2 separate regions of the Homo sapiens genome follow, and region 2 is linked to region 1. The links are contacts of gene promoters, found by promoter capture Hi-C in blood cells and fetal thymus (Javierre and others, 2016). All regions are on one chromosome and are shown on one strand. Each heading gives the region's core, a stretch centred on a gene start or on the middle of the fragment in contact. The rest is flanking DNA. Distances are from core to core; before and after follow the strand shown.

Region 1 (3,549 bases), core at 1-2,500:
ATGACCACAGAGAAGCACCTTTAATCTGAGCTCCCTCTGTAAAACGGAGACCACATGATCACTTGCCTCATAGAGGCAAGTAAGTTTTGCAAGTTGGTAAGAAAGCTCCTAGGCTGTATGCACTTAGCTCACCTGAACTGTGCTGGAGGCTGGAGTCAGCAGGCTGAAGAGCAGCCTGTCTTAGAAAGAGATTTGGAGTGAGAGTCACCAAAGGCTTGATTTTCTTTTCTTATTTATTTATTTTTTTAGAGACAGGGTCTCACTCTTTCGCCCAGGCCACAGTGCAGTGGTGCGATCATAGCTCACAGTAATCTAAAACTCCTGGGCTGAAGTGATCCTCCCACCTCTGCCTCCCAAAGGGTGGGATTACAGGCGTGAACCACTGCACCTGGCCTGTAGCCTGTTTTTCTATCCCAGCTCTGCCTTCATTGAACTGGGTAACTTTGGGCAAGTCCCTTCCTCTCTCTGGGCCTCCCTTTCTCCATCTGTGAGAAGGGAGTTGGACTACAGGAATCCTGACACCCTGCACCTGTCTCCAGACTGGGGTCTGCTTCTCCCTTCTGAGTCCGGAGTGGTGGGGATGGCCTGCTCTCAGACCTCAGTCTTACCTAGAGAAAAGAAGGTGGCAGGAAACCTTCCTAAGAAGGGTGGGACACTGCACAGCCGGCCTCCCAAAACACCTGGTTGAGCAGGTGCTCTGGATGCCCTGGGGGCAATCCATGCCCAGGTGGGCAACCGAGTCCTAACCTGAGGCAGATGCTGAGGGAAGACCCTCCATCAGGAACCCGCGGCTGATTGCGAAACGCCCCTTCCGCACCCGACGGAGGGGCTGGGATGGAGCCGACTCACCCAGCCACGCACTGTGCCTTTGCGCCCCAGCCGCGCACTCTTCCTCACTTTCCCGGGCTCCCCAGTGCTGCAGCCGGGAAGGGCAGAGCAGGGCAGGTCCCCGACACCGCGTGGGACCCGGCTCCGGGCGGCGCAGCCAACCTCCCTCCCGAGCCCATCGCCCCCTCCCGGGCGCCCAGGCCGTCTCAGGGGCTCCGTCCCGGGATACCTGCCGGCCCCGCGGGAAGGCAGGCGGCGGGGACCGGGCGAAGCCGGCCGACCCTGGCCCCCGCGCAGTGACCCCGGAGCCCCGCGCCTTACCCAGAACTTGGAGCCGAGCTCCCCGGAACCGCACAGGGCGTCCATGGGGCCGAGGCGCGGCTGCAAGGAAGGCGAGCGCGGTCGGACCCAGCGGCGGGCAGAGCGGGCGCCGGAGCCGCCTCCGCCCTCCGCACCCCGCGCTCCGCCCGGACCCGCCCTGCCGAGCCCTACCCCAGTGCCTCTGGGTCCGGTCTCCCTGCCCCCGTCCCGCGGGTTGCGACAGCGCCTCCCTGGGAGGGACTTTGGGGCAGAGGTGGGGGGGCCCTTGGCACGGCGACAGCCCCTGCGAGCGGCCCCTGGGCCAAGCCAGGGGGATGTCTCTCTAAATACCGAGGCTAACAGTCCAGGAGTCGAGTCTATTTCCAAGGGGGAACTGGGATACACAGGCGCTCCCACTCCCGAACAAGTCCGTGGGGCCGATGAGTCATTGAGTAGGGGACGTAGGGAGAGGGATTTAACAATCTTTCCTAGTAAAAAAGGAATCTTTGAGAAGGTCACGTTCCTCTCCGGAGGTCAGTTTCCTCATCTGTAAAATGGGAAGGGCTTCTGTGCTCAATCAGGAAGCTGACCTCTTCCCCATCAGGTTCCAGAGACCACTGGCAGGCGCCACACGGGGAGCACACGGGGTGTGCTCCGCGGGTGTGTACCCGTGAGGCGGGGGTGGGGGCCGCAGCATCGTCCAGCGGGGGCCTCTTATGTCCTCTTAAACTGCTGCCCTCTTAGGCTCTGTGGCTCCCTGACCTTGCCACATCACCTCGGCACGTCTCTGGGCCTCTACTTTCACATCCGTAAAATAGAGACAATCATAGAAGAGAATCTTCCTCCCAGGGTTCTCTGAGGATTGAATGGAAAGGGTAGGCAAAGCGTATTTCCTGGCACACTTAGTGGGCACCCAACATGTGTGAATTCCCTCTGCTTCAGCCTGATCAGGGTTGGGGGGGGAAGGACAGGTGAAGCCCCAGGAGGAGCCCCACGTGAGTGTCCTCGTCCTCGTCCTCCTCCTAAGGCTGAAACTCTACATTCCTGATCTGTAAAATGGGCTTGTCAGTGCTCTCCTTCTCCTGCTTGCCTCAGCTCTCCTTCTCCCGGTATCCCCTCAGATGCGGGGATCCCTCCATCTCTCAATCCCGCTGTTGCCCTGTCTTCCTTAACACAATCCCAGACGCCAACTCAGCACCGCTTGTTGGGGCTCAGAAGGAATTCTCCCTGGCAAATCTTTCCCTGGCCCTTCTCTTCCCTGCCTTTGCCCACAGGTCTGTCCAGTTTCACCCCGGTGACCCCTTTTCTGGCCCTTGTTCTCAAGAGAAGGTGTTTCCTTCCTTGGCTGCTCAGCGGCAGGTGTGGGTGGGAGCCAGTAAGAGTGCAGAAGGGGCAAGCCACCTCCTATCTCTCTGGGCAGCCAGGAGGTCACTAGAAGGGAAGTCTCCTTGGCTATAGGCTATCAGAACCAAGATCTGGCTGGGCATGGGATAGGGGTGGGAGTGGAGAAGATTCCCCTTTCCCAGGCAGTCAGACCAGGGACTTCTACCCCTCCACTGGGCAAGTTCTTTCAGCCCCTTCTTTGTCTGCCCTCTTCCTTTCCACTCATCCACACATACCCTCCCTCTCCTGTCCCCCTACCTTCATCTCTGGGCAAAATACTTTACAGAGCTTTACACCTTGTTACGGCGTGCCTTGGATTATATTTAGTTATGAAGAGTCTGTCTTCCCTGCTAATCTGAGAGGTCCCCAAGGGCAGGGACTAACTCAGTCCCCTCCAATCCCCCTCCATACCTTTTATACACTGTGTGATCTCAATAAGCTCCTTGATGCCTCTGGGACTTCATTTCTTGAGAAACGTGGACAGGGTGATATCTAAGCTCTCTTCCAGCCCTGGTGGGCCAGGCTTCTATGGCCTAGGCAGCTGGGAACCTTCCTCCACCCCTTCCATGACCCTGGTCATGGCTTCATCAGCACCCACTGCCCCTGTGTTTTGACCTTGTCTACCCACCGGCTTCCTCCAACTCTCCCTCCTCTCCCATTCCTTTTCTAGGGCTTGTGGGGTCATAGGCACCAGATTGCTCTGGGCTTGAGGAGACCTGGGGACTTTCCTTTAGGGCCCTTTGGGAGGTGAGCTCCCCAATCAGACCTCCTTTCTGAGATGGAGAGCCCAGAACTAGCCTGAGCTTCCGTCCGGGACTTTCCAGCCCCACAGTTGGCCAGGCAGTGCACTGGCTGGAGCTCTAGTTTTGGGCTAGGACCCTTGGGTTCTGGCTTCAGCATCGGAGCTGAAGCACCATCCCTTGCAGCCCCAGGCTTTTCTATCGCTATTGCTTTCCCAAGGCTATAGCACTGGGTTGGGCACTCTGAGGGCGTGGTGGGGGCCCTTAGCGATCCTCACCTTCCCCCATCTCTCTTGAG
Region 2 (7,181 bases), core at 4,362-6,861, 170 kb before region 1:
CTGTAATCCCAGCACTTTGGGAGGCTGAGGCGGGAAGGTCACCTAAGATCGGGAGTTCGAGACCAGCCTGACCAACATGAAGAAACCCCATCTCTACTAAAAAATACCAAAAAAAAATTAGCTAGGCATGGTGGCACATGCCAGTTATCCCAGCTACTCGGGAGGCTGAGTCAGGAGAATCACCTGAACCCAGGAGACGGAGGTTGCAGTGAGTAGAGATCGCACAATTGCACTCCAGCCTGGAGTGCAATGCAAAACTCCATCTCAAAAAAAAAAAATGGGAAAAGAAAAACACACACACACACAGACATACAAATACACATATATATACACAAATGCATGCACACACACTCACACACACACGTATATGTACACATGGATACAAACACACAAATGCAGGTAGACATATACAAACACACATACAAACATGCAAATACATGTACACACATACACAAAAGCAAATACACACATGTACACAAGTACATACACATATACATACACTTAAACACAAATATGTAGGCATGCACACACATACATACACATGTGTTAGGCACATACTTGGGGTGCTGGTTAGAAATGGAGATTCCTTCATCTCACCCCATCTAGGCTGGAGGATTGGGAAGCTGAGAGGAAAGTCTAAATCTATCTTAGTCTGCTTCTGCTGCTATATCAAAATACCACAAACTGGGTAATTTATGAACAACGGAAATGTATTTCTCCACCAAGTACAGTGGCTCACACCTGGAACCCCAGTGCTTTGGGAGGCTGAGGCAGGAGGATTGCTTGAGTCAGGAGTTTGAAACCAACTGGACAACATAGCAAGAGCCCATCTCTATAAAAATTTTTTTTTTAATCTTTTTAAAGAAATGTATTTCTCCCAGTTCTGGAGGCTGGGAAGTCCATCTCCACGTGCCTGCAAGATTGGTGTCTGGGGACAGCTACTGTCTGCCTCCAAGAGGGCACGTGTTGCTGCAACCTCCAGAGGAAGCGAACATTGTGTCCTCACAAGGTGAAAGGGGTGGAAGGGCAAGAGGAGCTCTCTTCAACCTTGAGCCCTTTAATAAGAATAATAGGCCCTCAAGACTTAATCACCTCCCAAAGGCCACACCTCTTAATACTGTTGCATTGGGGATTATGTTTCAACATGAATTTTGGAGGGGATACCATCATTCAAACCATATTAAAACTTCCTTTTCAGAGCCCTAAAGCTGCTCCTGCGCCACACAGCAAGCTCTGCATATAAACAGGCCTCCAGATTGCATGGTACTTTCACAGCCTCCGTTCTGAACTACCAGCCTTGACCTCCCTTCCTGGTTTCTAAATTCCTATTTATTCTACTATCAATAGCCTTATTCCACCAGAGCCTGACACTCGGCCTTGTTTCTCTGAGAACTCTTTCCTGTTCCCCCACAATCCAGACTGTAGCTCTGGCTCCAGATGCCTTTATCTCCTGGAAAGGCACGAGTCTACAAGTGCACAGCCCCAACAGTACTGACCTCAACCCTACAAGCAGGATTTTGGTCCCTCAGAGAACCTATCAATGTCACCTGGCTAGGAACAGGGGATCCAGTGAACTGAAAGAACGTTGCCAAGTTCACCCAACTCCAAGACAGCAGCAGGAAGGATCTCTCCTGGCCCCATTCCACAAGGGCTACCGTTCACCCAGATTAGCCTCTCTTGGTGTGAGCTGGAGTCCACAAAGTTGAGGTCTCTTTCTCTCTCTCTCTCTCTCCCTCTCTCTCTCTCTCCCCCAGTACCTAAGGCAGAAGTTCTCATGCTTTAGTGTGCTAGAGATTCCCTCAGTATCTTCCCAGATCCCTGGCCGTGCCCAGGCAACCAGCAGACTCTCTGGAGCTTGAGATTCAGGCGCATGTGTTGGGCAAGGGAGCAAGAAAGGGAAGAAGACAGAGTTGGTGACTTATGCGGCTCAGAAAGAACCCAGGAATCTTTGTTGAGGTTGTCGCTGGGATAGTGGTGCAGATGTGGCTGGGGAAGGCCCGGCCAGCCCCTGTGGGACCGTCTCACTTGGTGCACAGGACACCTAGTGATGGTCATCAGTGCGCCAGCGTGGAGAAGTCTTCCCATGGGCGCATGGCATGGACCAGCCAGGACCTCTCAGAAGCCAAAAAAGGCCCAGCCCACTCCCCTTTTCTGAGGGTCCCAGTATATTTTTTAAAGTCAAGACATTTCAAAACAGAGTTTCTAAAATTATGGCATATTTTAAATGTCTTAGTTATTAGTGCTTTTGATGCATATACACACAAACAATGAAATATTTTCTCTGCCTAAAAGAAGTATGATAATATAGTTTTGAGTGATGCAAAATGCCAGAAGGTTTGCAGCAAAATTACATTTATTTTACATTTTCTTTCTTTCTTTTTTTTTTTTTTTTTTTTTTTTTGAGACAAGGTCTTGCTCTGTCACCCAGGCTAGAGTGCAGTGGTGTGATCATAGCTCACTGCAGGCTCCGCCTCCTAGGCTCAGGTGATTTTCCTGCCTCAGCCTCCCAAATAGCTGGGATTATGGTGCTTGCCATCAAGCCTGGCTAATTTTTGTATTTTTAGTAGAGACGGGGTTTCACCATGTCGGGCAGGCTGGTCTCAAACCTCTGACCTCAAGTAATCTGCCCACCTCGGTCTCCCAAAGTGCTGGGATTACAGGCATGAGCCACTGTGCCTGCCCTAATTTTACATTTTTAATAAGACAGAATTTTATACTAATGATGGTTTCATGATAACTATATTAGTTTCCGGTGGCTGCTGTAACAAATTGCCAGAAACTCAGTGGCTTCAAACAACAGAAATTTACTTTCTCACAGTTCTGGAGGCCAGAGTCCGAAATCCATTTTCACTGGGCCAAGGCTCACAGAGAGAATCCGCCCCTGGCTCTTCCAGCTTCTATTGGCTCCCAGCACCCTGACCACCTCACTCCAGTTTCTCCCTCTGTGATTCGTTGCCTCCTCCTCCTCCTCCTCCTCTTCTTCTTCTTCTTCTTTTCTTTTCTCTTTTTCTTTCTTTTTTTTTTTTGAGTCAGTGAGTCAAGGTCTGATTCTATCACCCAGGCTGAAGTGCAGTGGTGCAACCTCTGGCTCCCAGGCTCAAGCCATCCTCCCATCTCAGGCTCCCAAGTAGCTGGGACTACAGGTTTGCACTACCATACCTGGCTAATTTTTGTAGAGACGGACGGGGTTTTGCCATGTTGCACAGGCTGGTCTTGAACTCTTGACCCAAGCTATGGAACCCACCCATTGTGCGGGTAACCGTCTCACACACATCTTCTCCCGAGTCTCCAAGCTGCAAGCTCCCATGTGTTTGTCTGAAGGAAGCTCATCTTTTTTCTTATTATTGTGATGAAACACACATAATATAAATTTTACCATTTTAACCATTGTAGGTATGCAATTCAGTGGCATCGAGGACATTCACATTGTTGTGCAACCATCACCACTACCTAGTTCCAGAACTTTTTCATCATCCCCAAAGGAAATCCATTAGCCATCACTCCCATTCCCCCTCCCCACAGCCCCTGGCAACCGCAAATCTGCTTCCTGTCTCTGTGGATTTGCCTATCTAAACATTTCACATAAATGGAGTCATACAATATTGGCCTTTTTGTGTCTGGCTTCTTTCATTTAGCATGAGGTTTGCAGGGTTCATCTATACTGTGGTGGGTGTCAGTACTTCACTGCTTTACATGGGTGAATAATATTCTGTTGTTTGTTGGTTCTTTTTTTTTTTTTTTTGAGATGGAGTCTCACCCTGTCACTCAGGCTGGAGTGCAGTGGTTCGATCTCGGCTCACTGCAGCCTCCGCCTCCCGAGTTCAAGTGATTCTCCTGCCTCAGCCTCCCGAGTAGCTAGGATTACAATTGTGCACCACCACGCCTGGCTAATTTTTGTATTTTCAGTAGAGACAGGGTTTCACCATGTTGGCCAGGCTGGTCTCAAACTCCTGACCTCAAGTGATCCACCCACCTCGGCCTCCCAAAGTGCTGGGATTACAGGCATGAGCCACTGCGCCCAGCCTGTTGTTTGTAGGTTCTACATTGTGTTGATTCATTCATCAATTTTTGGATATTTGGATGGTTTTCTACTTTCGGCTGTTTCTGGCCAGAGCCCCACAGCGCCCCCTCTAGACCCTCCATACTCATCTCTGAGTGAGGCAGTCATGCAGCCAGCGGGCCTCCAAGCTTCTGTGCCAAGTCAAACAAGAGTTTGACCCTAATCCAACACAGAGAAAATTTGGCAACGCTAAGCCAAGTTCCTTGGTGAGGCGCACATTTGCCTCTTGATCTGCCGCATGCCCTCTTCAGGGAACACCCTTTCTTCCTGGGGGCAGCTTCTCCCCCTATTCCAACCACGTGGCCCTAGTGGGGCTGCCATGCCATCCCGGAACCCTACCTGATGCAGGGTCTCTGCAGCTCAGCCTTTCCCACATGCGGAGCGGCCAAGTGTGCAGCTGAAGTTTTTGGTTGATTCTAGCAAATTCCCCCTTTCTGCCCAAGCTGGCTCATGTTGGATTTTGTCACTTTCAAGCCAGAGTCCTCACGGGGGCAGCTCCATCTCCCACCACAAATCCCAGGTGCTCCCTGAAGTGGAGAAAATGGGGCATCCTGCCTGGGCCCAGACTAGCACCCCCCCACAATATAATAACTCTGTGGGGTCCCCAGGTGTTTCATTTAACTTTGAGCTTCCTGGATGAACAGCATGGAGCTCCAATATTCATAAAAACTGGACCTCTGGGGCACGCCCAGGCTTGTCGAGACCCTGGAGGTCAGAAAGTGCAAGAAAGTTCTCCAGGTGTTCCTTGGACAGTTTGCACCTGGTAACTGACCCTTGGCTTGTGGGATTCCCCCCACCCCATGTCATTCCCCCCACCCCATGTGGCTAATGAATGGATCCTGCAGGGAGTCACCATTCGCCTGGATAACGTCCTTGGGTGCCGTCCAGTGGGGCCTGGAAAAAGTTGCTGGCTTAGGCAGCATCGCCTCCAAGCCAGCTGTTCCTAAGGACTGTGTTCCCACATGCAGAACACCTGGGCCCTCCTCTGTCCAGCCAGGACTTCTGCGTGTGCTGAACTGGCTATTGACACTTCCTAGGTAGATTCCCCAGTGTCTGTCTGACCAGCAACCCTCCTCACCTCCTCCTCAGAACTTATTGTGGAATCAGAAAGTATAAGATTTCCCCTTGGGGACGAGTAGTACAGAATGAGTCCAGGTGTGGTGGCTCACACCTGTAATCCCAGCACTTTGGGAGGCTGAGGCAGGGGATCACTGGAGGTCAGGAGTTCAAGACCAGCCTGGCCAACATGGTGAAACCCTGTCTCTACTAAAAATACAAAAGTTAGCTGGTCATGGTGGTGTGCGCCTGTAGTCCCAGCTACTCAGGAGGCTGAGGCAGAATTGCTTGAATCTGGGGGGTGGAGATTGCAGTGAGCCGAAATCACACCACTGCACTCTAGCCTGGATGACAGGGCAAAACTCTGTCCAGACTCTGTCTAAAAAATAAAAAAAAAAACTGTAGGGCACGGTGGCTCACGCCTGTAATCCCACCACTTTGGAAGGCCAAGGCGGGCAGATCACCTGAGGTCGAGAGTTCAAGACCAGCCTGGCCAACATGGAGAAACCCCATCTCTACTAAAAATACAAAAGTAGCCAGGTGTGGTGGTGCATGCCCGTAATCCCAGCTACTTGGGAGGCCGAGGCAGGAGAATCGCTTGAATCCGGGAGGTGGAGGTGGAGGTTGCGGTGAGCTGAGATTGCGCCATCACACTCCAGCATAGGCAACAAGAGTGAAACTCTGTCTCAAAAAAAAAGTACAGAATGACAATTATGAAAATCAATTTTGTTTAATCTTTTCTAAAATGGAACAATGAACCAAGCAATTTCCTGGGCCCAAAAAAAGAAGCAGTATTGCGGTTATTAAAATAGTGTTTACTTTGTGCTGATGGGAAAAGATGTGAAATATTAATGACTCCACGGAGCCCCGATTATGTGACTCATTAGGCAAAGGCCCTATGTGCAATTAAAGTAGACTCTTCAGTGTCTATCTTAAGTGACTTTGTGTTTTGTCCAGCCACTCCATACACAAGGATGAGTGGCCAGGTGCAGAGGCTCATGCTTGTAATCCCAGCACTTTGGAAGGCCGAAGCAGGAGGATCGTGAAGCCTAGGAGTTCGAGACCAGCCTGGGCAACATAGTGGGACCCTCATCTCCATAAAAAAAAAACCAAAAAAGCAAAAACAACAAAAAAAAAAGAGAGAGAAAAAGATAATTTTTGTTGTTCTAATTTTTTTCTACAGAGCCTTTTTCATATAACTTTGTGCCTCGGGTTCCTCATCTGTACAATGGGATAATAGTACTTACTCCATAGGAATATTTTGAGGATTTACGACATATAACTCACTTAAAAACTGTGCCTGATGCCGGGCGTGGTGGCTCACGCCTGTAACCCCAGCACTTTAGGAGGCCAGGGAAGGCGAATCACTTGAGGTCAGGAGTTCATGACCAGCCTGGCCAACATGGTGAAACCCTGTCTCTACTAAAAATGCAAAAAATTAGCTGCAAATCGCTTAAACCTGGGAGGCGGAGCTTGCAATGAGCTGAGATCTGCCACTGCACTCTAGCTTGGGCGACAGAGCGAGACTCCATCTCAAAAACAAACAAACAAACAAAAAACTGTGCCTGAAAAGTAGGAACAATAAAATACATGAGTCATTATCATCCCCATTATCATCATTATAAATCTCGAGGATGTAGAACACACTTTAGGTAACTGAGTGAAATGAAGCTCGATAGCACAGGACACAGTCATGGTTCAGGACCTGCACCCACTGTCAATCACTTCAGCTGCAAATACGCTCAGCAAACTCACTGGGTTCTTGTCCTTTGTTTTGTGTTTCTTTTTCCCCATCTAAACTAGGTCCCTCTGTTTCACTTACTAAGCGAGACCAGTCTGCTGTTTTTCTCTGCAGATACTGGCTTTAAGAAAAAGGTGCCTCTGGCTGTTTCTGAGTTTTAATGAAAGCAAAGCTTCTTTCTTTCCCCAAGACTCTGCCGCAGGCTGCAGGGTGAGGCCTGTGATTCAAACTGAACTCGTTTCTCCCACCTAAAGAGGTTACAAGCCAGACCCTTTGGATCTCTTTCTCCGGACTTTTCTGCCAAGCTTGCCTCACAGGTGCAGG

Evidence for each region. The method cuts DNA at HindIII sites, captures the fragments that hold promoters and counts their contacts. A CHiCAGO score of 5 or more calls a contact.
Region 2: a contact is called between a fragment that was not itself captured here and the fragment with the promoter of ABCC3 in region 1, in 2 of 17 cell types (naive CD4 T cells and naive B cells). The highest score is 5.5, in naive CD4 T cells.

The regions. Positions count from the first base shown.
Region 1 is chr17:50,632,582-50,636,130 of GRCh38, reverse strand. It overlaps ABCC3 (ATP binding cassette subfamily C member 3), which reads right to left and starts at 1,250. Exons shown (of 31, transcript NM_003786.4): 1 at 1,150-1,250. The coding sequence starts at 1,194. RefSeq lists a silencer at 1,231-1,280. The HindIII fragment of the contact is 5,138 bases long and covers 1-3,549 here.
Region 2 is chr17:50,803,519-50,810,699 of GRCh38, reverse strand. No RefSeq gene overlaps it. Among named protein-coding and RNA genes, the nearest start is that of WFIKKN2, 28 kb to the left of the region's middle. RefSeq lists a silencer at 4,312-4,533. The HindIII fragment of the contact is 2,841 bases long and covers 4,191-7,031 here.